2 separate regions of the Homo sapiens genome follow, and region 2 is linked to region 1. Evidence: promoter capture Hi-C in human tissues and cell types (Jung and others, 2019). All regions are on one chromosome and are shown on one strand. Each heading gives the region's core, a stretch centred on a gene start or on the middle of the fragment in contact. The rest is flanking DNA. Distances are from core to core; before and after follow the strand shown.

What was found. The method cuts DNA at HindIII sites, captures the fragments that hold promoters and counts their contacts. A contact is called where the count stands out against the background at its distance.
Region 2: a contact is called between a fragment that was not itself captured here and the fragment with the promoter of SLC29A1 in region 1, in 1 of the 25 tissues and cell types used here (dorsolateral prefrontal cortex).

The regions. Positions count from the first base shown.
Region 1 is chr6:44,219,468-44,224,844 of GRCh38, forward strand. It overlaps SLC29A1 (solute carrier family 29 member 1 (Augustine blood group)), which reads left to right and starts at 4,128. Exons shown (of 13, transcript NM_001372327.1): 1 at 4,128-4,174. RefSeq lists silencers at 1-116, 347-446, 3,968-4,367 and enhancers at 3,957-4,815, 5,058-5,207. The HindIII fragment of the contact is 20,616 bases long and covers 1-5,377 here.
Region 2 is chr6:43,521,453-43,526,829 of GRCh38, forward strand. XPO5 (exportin 5) reads right to left here. Exons shown (of 32, transcript NM_020750.3): 27 at 5,233-5,295; 28 at 4,387-4,469; 29 at 3,655-3,762; 30 at 3,379-3,516; 31 at 3,019-3,183; 32 at 882-2,553. The coding sequence ends at 2,416. It overlaps POLR1C (RNA polymerase I and III subunit C), which reads left to right. Exons shown (of 9, transcript NM_203290.4): 9 at 1-61. Among named protein-coding and RNA genes, the nearest start is that of POLR1C, 7.1 kb to the left of the region's middle. The HindIII fragment of the contact is 5,249 bases long and covers 320-5,377 here.

The DNA.
Region 1 (5,377 bases), core at 2,878-5,377:
CGGGTGCCCAAAGGCGCCGGCCGCCAGTCCCAGGCCCGAAGGGCCCCTCCCACTGAGTCGGCTCTGGTCTCCCCGCCCCTGAGCCGCGAGGACTGGACGCAGCTGGCTGCGGAGCTCTGGGCGGGCGCTGGGGTCGCCTGTTGCAGCCTCTCTTCCGCCCGGCGGCCCACACCGGTCAGGCCCGGCGCGGGCTGCGCTCTCCAGCTGTGGCTATGGCCCCAGCCCCGAGATGAGGAGGGAGAGAACTAGGGGCCCGCAGGCCTGGGAATTTCCGTCCCCCACCAAGTCCGGATGCTCACTCCAAAGTCTCAGCAGGTGCGCGGGGCGGGGCCGGGGGGCCTGGCGGGGCGGGGTGGGGTGGGGGCGAGGTCTGCGCCGTTCTCACGCTGCCGGGCGGGACAGGGGGCCAGTAGGGGGACCCGCTGGGCTACAGTGTCTCAGGGGAGTCAGAATCTTTGGTTTCTGGATGCGGGGCCACTTTTCTGGGCCTTCGAAGGCCATTATTAGATGACTGCCTCCCCAAACTCCCCAGCCACTTACAGATGTCCCAGGAACATAGGGTAGGGGGAAGAGGTCTGGAAAATTAGCCTAGAAGACCAGCCCAGACCTAACTGAACAAAGAATTTAGTCTTCTCGAACCCCGAGCCAGTACCCACACTGTGAACACACCTGTCTTTACTTAAAAAATCTTGATGTTTTATTCATCATGGAGTCTTTAAAAAAAAACAAAAACCGAGTCTCGCTCTGTTGTTCAGGCTGGAGGGCAGTGGTGCGATCACAGCCTACTGCAGCCTCGACCTCATGGACTCAAGCCATCCTCCCACCTCAGCCTCCCAAAATGCCAGGACCACAGGCATGCGTCAACATGCTCAGCTAATTTTTTTTTTTTTTTTTTTTTAAGAGACAGAGTCTCCCTGTGTTGACCAGGCTGGTCTTGAACTCCTAAGCTCAAGTGATTCTTCTACCTTGGCCTCCCAAAGTGCTGGGATGACAGATGTGAGCCACTGCACTTGGCATCATGGAGTCTTGATTTGTAGACATTGCATTAAAACTTATTTTGGTAAGGGCTGGGTGTGGTGGCTCACGCCTGTCATCCCAGTGCTTTGGGAGGCCAAGGCGGGCGGATCACAAGGTCAGGAGTTCGAGACCAGCCTGACCAACGTGGTGAAACCCCGTCTCTACTAAAAAAAAAAAAAAAAATACAAAAATTAGCTGGGCGTGGTGGCACGTGCCCGTAATCCCAGCTACTCAGGAGGCTAAGGCAGGAGACTCGCTTGAACCCAGGAGGTGGAGGTTGCAGTGAGCCAAGATCACGCCACTGCACTCCAGCCTGGGTGACAGAGTGAGACTCCATCTTAAAGAAAAGAAAAAAAAAAACAAACTTATTTTGATTACATTAAAATGTATCTTTGTTTGTTTGTTTGTGTTTTCAGACAAGGTCTTGCTCTGTTGCCCAGGCTGGAGTGCAATGGCAGGATGATGGCTCACTGAAGCCTTGTCCTCCCGGGCTCTAGTGAACCTCCGGCCTCAGCCTCTGGAGTACCTGGAACCACAGGCTCGAGCCACCATGCCTGGCTAATTTATTTTAATTTTTTTTGTAGAGATGGGGTCTCACTGTGTTGCCCAGGCTAGTCTTGAATTCCTGGGCTCAAGTGATCCTCCCACCTCGGCCTCCAAAAGTGCTGAGATTTCAGGCATGAGCCACCACTCCTGGCCTAAAATTTATCTTGATTCATGAGTTTTTTGGCTCCCCCTTACATTTTACACCCCTGGCAAGTGCCTCACTGGCCTCTCCCTAGTCCCAGCCCTGTCACAAGGCCATGGAGATACAGTCACAAACACAACTGAGAACACAGACAGTCATGAGACATGTGCTGGTTACCAACCCCCAGGCCAAGCAAACACACTTCCAGCAAACACACATGACTTGTTGGTGACAGCTGAGAGGACACATGCCTGGGGAGAGAGAGGACTGTGTGTGAGGTGGTGAGGCATGCATGGGGCCTGCCAAGTTGGGGAGGGAGTCTGGGCCAAGCCACGGTCCCATATAGGGTGGTGAATAAGGTGTAGAGTAGAGGTGCAGCAGGACCAACCCTTCCCACCCCACCCCTTCGACAGGGACCTGAGGGAGCTCAGGGAGGGAGAGAAGCCAGAAGACCAGGCAGAGACTGAAGAGAGCTGGCAAGGCCTGGCTAGAAAAACTCCAGGCAAGGCCTGTGTAAGTTGGGGCTCCCAGGCTGTCCAGCAGGGGGCCCTGGCACCCAGCAACCTCTGCTTGGGAGGTGGCTACAGAGGGGTGTGGGTGTTGGCTAGGGGCCCAGCAGGATGGATGCCAGACGGACTTCTCTCCAACAATAACAGCCCTGGCTGTTGCCATCCACCGAGCTGGCAGGGCCCCAGTTTGGGTGGGGAGAGGAACCAGCCTTTCCCAGTCTGGCCTGAGACCCTCACCACTTCCCTCCAGTTTTCTTCCACCTCCAGCCCCCTCTGTACACAACTGCAGCCACTGGCCACCAGCCTTGCCATGCCTGGCAGATCTTCTGACCACTAGCCCTGCCACCCCCACAGACCCAGAGACCAGGAAAGGAGGGTGGGGAGCGAGGAAGGGGGCCAAGGCAGAGGGCAGAGGAGGGCTAGGAGAGGAAGAGAGAGAGACTGGACAAACATGAGGGCAGGAATTAGGGGGTTGTGGACAGACATGAAGCCACTCTCAAGTCATGGGGCTGTGCCTGGAAAAATACCACCTAAACCCATCTTCCTGCCCTCTGGTTAGGGCTGGCGGGGATGTGGGGGATGGGGGTGGGGTGGGGGAGGGTTGGGAAGGAATATGTGTGTCATCTCTGTGGGGCATGGAAACAGAAGGCTGGGGACACCCATTCTGGAGTAGCTTGGGGAGAGCCACTGACCCTAATTAGAAAAGCCACCTCTCTCCTTAGGGCCCTGTCTGTTTCTCTGGGGACAGGGTAGGACTACCTTATCCCTATGATGTGAGGTACTGCCAGTTGTTAATCAGTGTCTGTGGCTTCTCTAGGGGACAAGCCCTTCGGGTCAGTGGGCATGGGGTGGGCAGCGTGGGTTGGATTTTCTCCTCAGGACCTTTCCAGCCTTAGGATCATCCTCTAGCACTGAGTACTGCTGGAAGGGCAGGGAGTGCCCCCCACCCCACCCCATTTATTGCCCGACCAAAGAGAGGGCCTCCCTCCCCCTCCCTTGGAGGGACTTGCTGGACCACCCCTCAGCACGCCCACACCTTCCTCCTTAGCTAGTGAAAGACATACTCAGCAAGGCTTCCGCCTGTCAGGATGGCTGGGACAATAGGATTCACTGAGGATATAAGGCTGTTCCTAGCTTTTTCTCTTCCCATTCCCACCTGTGCCTCAGTTTTCCAAAGTGCTGGATTTAGAAAGGGTGAATTATGAGGGAGCTGGAGGGCTTTGCCCCACCCCCCTCCGCGCGCACACGCAAGCACAGGCAGAGGCACATACCCCCTCCAAGTCAAAGTTGTGAGTGGGGTGGTGTTTGCGCGTCTGTGGCTGGGACTGGATGTGTCAGGGATGGGAAAACCCATCATGCTGGTCACAGAAAATGCGCGGTGGGGACAGAAGCAGTTTTGAAGGAAAAGAAGAGGAGGGGGACTGAAAGAAAGAAGGGGGCGCTGAAAGGGAGGGCGCTGGGAGGAAAAAGGTGCAGTGTGGAGGAAGCGCGGCGTGGGCAGGGCTTGGGAAGGGATAACGGAATATCTGAGGTGGAGTGGGCCGTGGAGCGTCGGGGCCGGTCTGAGCAGCGGGTGTGTAAATGGAACAGTCCCGAGATGAATTTTATGGGAGTCTGCGCAGGTCCTTAATGTGTGGCTGTACCCTCCAGCCCCATGTACCCCACACGATGGACAGACAGCCTTGGTGTGGCAGGGCCCAAAGAGGTCCTATCTACCGCAATAACACGACCAGGCGGCCCTGGGGGCGCAGGGGCTCGGGGTGGGAGCGGCGGAGCGCGCGGAGTCGCCGCGGGGTGGCAGGGGTGGGCCGGGGGCGGGGCCGCGGGCGTCGGGGAGGTGGCAGTGGGCGCAGGGCGGGGCGAGCTCAGCGGAGGGCGGGTTTGAATGTGCCCCGGCGGGAGAGGGAAGCTGCAGCGAGAGCGCGCGGATCTCAGCGCGGGAGCAGTGCTTCTGCGGCAGGTGCTGCCCGGGGCCGGGGACTGGGGACTGGGGACTGCCGGGGCGGAAGACGCCGCTGCCCGCCTGCCACGGAGGGCAGGGAGGGCGGGCCTGACGGCTCCGCAGCCCGGAGAAGGGACGCCGGGTGGGGCCCCAGTGCGGAGCGTGCGGAGCCGCGCAGCACGTGGCGCGCACGGGCCAGGGAGCCTGAGGACCCTGCGGGGACCGGGACCCAAGCTGGGCGGGGCGGCCTGGCTCCCGGGCCTAAAACAGGCTGCGGTCACGTTGACCTCCGCAAGGGGCAGGCGAGTGGACGGGTGATCCCCATCGATCTGGTCGGTATCAGGGAGGGGCCGTGCCGCTGACTGCGCTGGCGGAGGGGTATGGGGATGGGGATGGGGATGGAGGCTCGCGAGCGGAGGTGCAGGCTCGCGAGCGGAGGTGCGGGGCTGTCTCTTTAACCCCGGTCTTTTACTGGCTAAACTCGTATCCCTGGCGTCTCCTTCCTGCGCACGTCTTCATTTACTGATTTACTGTGAGGGTATATGAGAGGGTGAAGACAAACAGTCCTCGGCTTTGCTTACCAGGAGAGAGCAGTCGTAGGTCAAGGCTGGCTCCAACCCTGCCCTCACACCTCTAGGGGTCTCTCTGCAGCCCTGTGGTAGTCCCTTTGCCTACTCCTCTCGGTGGCCTCCAGACCCTCCAACTTTCCTCCTGCTTGTGTAAGCTCCCCATGCCAGGATGTGTGTGATGGGGCGGGGCTGAGCTGCCTGACACTCAAGTCAGGCTGGGAATGATCTTGGTCTCCACCTCATTTTTCCCTTTAGTTGAATCAGAGTTCCCCCCACCTCCCAGTCTACAGGGCTAACTGAGAAGCAGCTTTTATACCTCTCTCCATTCCAAAAGGAGCTTGAACATTTAATATGGATTCTAGCTCCTCCACTCACCAGCTCTGTGACTTCAGGCAAGTGACTCAACCCCTCTGAACCTCAGCTGGCCCCATCTATTCAGTGCTAGTACTAGCTTATGGGTGGTTGTGAAGAAAAGACAAGAGATCTGCAGGTAGTGGCTAGCCCCATATGAAATCCTGGGAGTGGAGAATTGCAGGAGAGGTGTTGGGAGTCTGGAGGCAGGGAGGTACTCAATTTGGTGGCTACTTTCAGGGGCCCACCTCAGCAGGCCAAGGCATAGTTGGAGGGACACCAGATGCTCTGAGCTGGTATC
Region 2 (5,377 bases), core at 1,694-4,193, 700 kb before region 1:
ATGAGACTTTTTACGCCTTTATAAGGCCTTAGATGTAAATAAACTCACCCAAACAAAAAAACTTTTTGAGACTACTTTTGAGTTTGTTTTTTGAGACAGTCTCACTGTGTTGCCCAGGCTGGAGTGCAGTGGTGCAATCTCAGCTCACTGCAGCTTCCTCCTGGGTTCAAGCAATTCTCAGGAGGCTGAGGCAAGAGTAGCTGATGCTACAGGCATGCACCACCACACCTAGCTATATGTCTAATTTTTTGTATTTTTAGTAGAGACAGGGTTTCACCATGTTGGTCAGGCTGGTGTCAAACTCCTGACCTCAAGTGATACGCCTGCCTTGGGGCCTCCCAAAGTGTTGGGATTACAGGTGTGAGCCACCGCGAAAAACAGGGGGCCTCACTTCAGAACTGGTTTAGCATTTACCAATTAAGAACATCAGATGTGCACTCCAGCCCGGGTAACAGTGAGACCCTGTTTCAAAAACAACAGAAAGAACACCTCCTGAGAATTGGCAAATTAAGGTGGTTTCTGGGAGCACAGCCAAACCCTAGAAAAACATTCAAGCTAGAGTGAATGTGCCACTTCACCTATCTCCTGGTTTACCAGGGAAGTTCATGTTGCTATTGACAGCTCCAACAAAGAACAGTAGCAATTCCTGTGGGCCAGGCCCAGCAGCCACACACGAAAGACACTGTGAGAATGGTATGGGCTGCCTAGTCTGGGTATGTCAGGAATAGAAATCCTTTTCTAACTGGCACACCATTTCAGAAAGCTTGAAAGACCAGAATCATCAGTCACATTTCTTCCTGTTTTAGTCCCGGGTGCTCATGAAGTAACCCTGGAGTATGTCACTGGTTTTAAGACTAGGTTGAAAAAGGCAGATGGGTCCCTTTCTGTACGAAACTGAGATTTTTACTGACATGCAGATGTGCTTTAGAGTTAATGTTTCTACAAAAAGTTTCTATAAACAATAGAAAATTTCTAGCATGAAGTCACAGGATGTTAAAAATATTACAATGCAATAAATACAACTACATCCTCCACAGCCCCAACCAGACAGGAATAGGCAGCTATCAGGTTTGGAGGGAAACACTCTTGAGATCGCCTTCACGATCCACAGAAACCCAGAGCACCACACAGGAAGAGGGAGCAACACAAGACTCCCAACTTCTGCTTCCCCAGCTTTGCTTCTTCTCAATCTGACCCTGCCTGTGGCCCGCACCAGCTAAAAACTGTAGCTTCAGTCCACTTCGGCTCTCGGGGAAACCCTCTTGTCAGTGGACTGGATGGACAACAGGTCTGTTTTTGTGCAGAGCACATGGACACACTGGTTTCTGTATGGATTAACTCTGCCTTACGGCCAGTAATAACCTCAGGGCCAGGTCCCGTATCCATGTCCTCTCTTTACAGGGCCTTTCAGTGACCTCTAGAATGGACTCACAGTACAGGTTGTGATGTGAAGGCATGTATTCTTTTGGAAATGGCCTTTGAGAAAAGTAACCAGGGACCTGAAAGACCATGAGATTGTGGAAGGCACCTGGACTTAGTCCTAGGAGAAGACCAGCGGCTTTGCTAGCTGCTCATCACAGATGTAGCCTAGTTGGTCTGTATTATCCTTGGATGACAACGGTGTCATGTGACACTATCTAGGGTACTGTGGCTCTTGTGCCTGAGTGGACCTTGAGGCTGGGGAGGCCAGACTGAGGGGTCATTCATGGAAGGGCAAGATGTGTGAACTCTAAAGGGGATGTTAGCACTAAAGACTTCCCAGCCCTGGTCCTTGGAGGTACTATACTTGATACTGTGCCAAGTTTAGCAGTAGCCTGTACCATGGATCCCATCAGGTGACCAGATTCTTGCCCAAAGCAAAGTTGAGAGAACTGACCAAGTTCTCTTCAGCACTTAGCACCTAACCCAGACATGCCCCTTAGGGAGTGGGGAAAGTTTCCTGCCAGCCCAGCAGCAAAAGGGCTCAGTGGGAGTTGGAGTGGTCCAAGAGAAACTCTGGCACAAGTAGTTGAGGGCTGTGCTCTTGCTGCGAGCCTTGCTAGTCGCAGGGTTGGGCACAGCACCCTTAGTTACCATTCTGTACAGGTATGTGGCTGCACGGGGGTGGGAGGGCTTGTGGGAGAAGGGCTGCTCTGCTCTAGCTTTTCTTGGAAAAGCCAAATCTCCAAGTAGAATGGGAACTATCTGGGACATCTAGACAGAATAGTTTAAGCCCTAACTCCCTTTCTTGATACTTTAGTATAATTACTTCTGGTCCTGCACAGGGCCTGTTCTCTCCAGCTCCAGACCTGGATCTCTTTCCAGGCTGACAGTGGTGGAAAGTGAGGTGGCAGTGCAAGAAGGGCCTAGAGATCGGCTACAAAGGGAAAGAAGAGATGACAAGAAAGGCCGAGGAAGGATGCCCAAAAGCTTGATTCAGGGTTCAAAGATGGTGGCCAGGCCACCCCCATCATTGTCCAGCACCTCCGTCTCCAGCATTGGCTTTGTTTTTTTGAAAAGTGAGGGAAGATTCTTAATGTGAACTTCTTTTCGGAACTGCTCTCCCAAGGGTTTCTGTGGAAAACAAATGAGAAAGAATTAATGCTGGGCCCTCAGTAGTAGTTAAAAGATTCTCTTGGCCCGGCGCAGTGGCTCGCGCCTGTAATCCCAACACTTTTGGGAGGCCAAGGCGGGTGGATCACCTGAGGTCAGGAGTTCAAGACCAGCCTGACCGACATGGAGAAACCCCGTCTCTACTAAAAATACAAAAAGTAGCCAGACGTGGTGGTGCATGCCTGTAATCCCAGCTACTTGGGAGGCTGAGGCAGGAGAATCGTTTGAACCTGGGAGGCGGAGGTTGTGGTGAGCTGAGATCGTACCACTGCACTCCAGCCTGGGCAACAAGAGTGAAACCCCATCTCAAAAAAAAAAAAAAAAAAATCTCACCATAATGGTCAATAACTACAGCTGGTTTATGGTTTGCCCATACACATGATTTAAGAAGGGGGTTGGGAGCACTATTGAAGGTGCATGACCTACCCCAATGCAACCAGCAATGAGGCGTTTGAATTGGTCCTTTCGGCGCTTGTCAGCCACTTTCTGCAGGGAGGGGTTTAAAAGCTTGCAGTCAAACTGGTCCAGTGAGTCCTTCTGTATTTCAGGGATTTGCTCCATTACAGCTCTTATCTCCAGGTACCTGGGGCGCTGATATCAGCAGGGATAAACTTACTGGATGTAGGTTTGGATATTGCCACCCTCCCCATTTCCTGCCACACCCATTTCTCAGAGATTGCACCAGCAATTTGGCAGGTGCCTGAATTTAGGATAAGGCCCAAGAGACTAGGAGCAGACTGAGTGATGAAGCTGCAGCCATCCTTCCCCCATGCCTTCCCCACTCACCAGTGCCTCGTATATCTGGAAGGCCAGATGGACCAGGGAAGCCATGCACCCGTCGTGCTGCCCGTGCATCTGTAAGCCTTTCAGCACACTGGTGAAAAGCCACGTAACTGCATCTGCGAGCAGTGTCCCTGACAGCACCTGGGGAGACAACTGTGCTTTAGGGCCACAGGGGGCCTCTCTCAAGGCCTCAGCACCCCAGTTCTTCTGAATGATTTAGTCAGTCTGCATGACCCAAACCTTCCATGAGGGGCAGGGAAAAGGGGTGAATAACCATACTTGTTTGAGGAGAGGCCAGCAGAGCTGTGAGGTTGTCCTCTGGCAGGACAGAGTATCTTTCCAGGCCAGGGAATTGAAGGCTGTAATTAATAGCGCTGTACAAACATCCTGAACAGGAAAAGATGAAGAGTTACAATGGAAAAAGAAGCACAGTTTTCTCTGATGATTATTACACATCAGGAGCCGGAGGGTTTTTTTTTTTTCCTCCCCCCCTCTAAAGATGGGTTTGTTTTGTTGCCCAGGCTGGTCCTGAACTCCTGGGCTCAAGCTATTCTCCCATCTAAGCCTCCCGAATAGCTGGGACTACAGGTGTGTGCCACCATGCCTGGCTTAGGAGCTGGAGTTTTAAATAGCTAAGCAGGAAAAATAAAAGGAGTTTACTTCCTCTATTTTTGTGTATTGCCAGTCAAAAAGAAAAAATCAAAATGTGAGAAAACCTGTATGTGTAGGATGGAGACAAAGCTCAGGCCTGGCTTGGGGAGGCTAAACACCAGGGATCTGCATCAGTGTGCCTACTATGTGTTTTCCTGAGAGCTCCTGCCTATGCTGGTATGGGAGACACCATGGCATTGCACCTTTTCCCTCGGTTTTTTCTGGGGCCTTTGGAACCAGGAACTTATGTAACAAAGGAGTATTACAAAAAACTCTTGATAGCACCATAGAGCAAGAAAAGTAAAAGGTGACTCCCCACCTGGGCAAGGAGTAAAGGTATCACCTGCTCCTTCTACCCACCTCATGCTTCATCAGACATTTGCCCAGGTCTGTAAGCTCTGCCATAGCTGAGGGGGTGACCTCTGTGGCCATCATTTCTTCATCTGTTATCAGAGAGTAGAATGTTAAGCTCCATCCTTTCAGAACAGAGAAGAATATCTTGTTCTGACAGAAGCGCAAAAAACAAAGCAAAGCTGAGTGTTCTAGGCTAAGTGGTGGCTAAGTAGTACTAGGAGCCCTCCCACCTCCACATAATGCCCATGCCCATGGCTGATCTTCTAGAGATGCACTCAAGCTGTACATGAGGGAAATGGGAGCTTCTAGGCAGAAACACAAAATGCTGCAAATACTGAAGTTACTTTGTTGTTGGACAAATATTTGAGCACCAGACACTGATTTAGTTACTGGGGATAAAAGGTATAGGACAATAGGTCCCTTCCCTGATGGGAGTTTACATTCTAACATGGGAGATAGGTAAGAAAGGAATACATAAATAAAAACATAATGTTGGGTAGTGACAACTGCTATGAAGAAGAATAAAGCAGAGGAATACAGAGTAGCTGGGGTTGCCATTTTTGATAGGTTGGTCATGGACGATCTCTGGGAAGAGGTGACATTGGAATAAAGCAAGAGAAAAGATCACATATATGGTTGGGAGGAAATCATCTGAGACAGAGGAAACAGCAAGTGCAAAGGCTTGGAGGTGGGAGTATGATGGAGGCACACAGCAAGAGGGCTGGTCCAGAGATGATAACTACATGTAGGGTGTCTTCTCCTCACCAGACTGCAAGGAAACTGACCTGGTTCAGAAGGAACAGTATTTAGGAGGCTAAGAGCAGAACTCCAAGGTCTCACAGGCTCACTTACCGTCTCCATCTGCTGGGGGAGCACTACTGTGGTCAGCACCCTTCTTTGAAACACAGCAAACCGCTAAAGCAAGAAAGCAGGGTTACTAGGTGAAGGGTGGGTATATACTACCACAACAGCCACCTCAGGCCCACTGATCCCAACC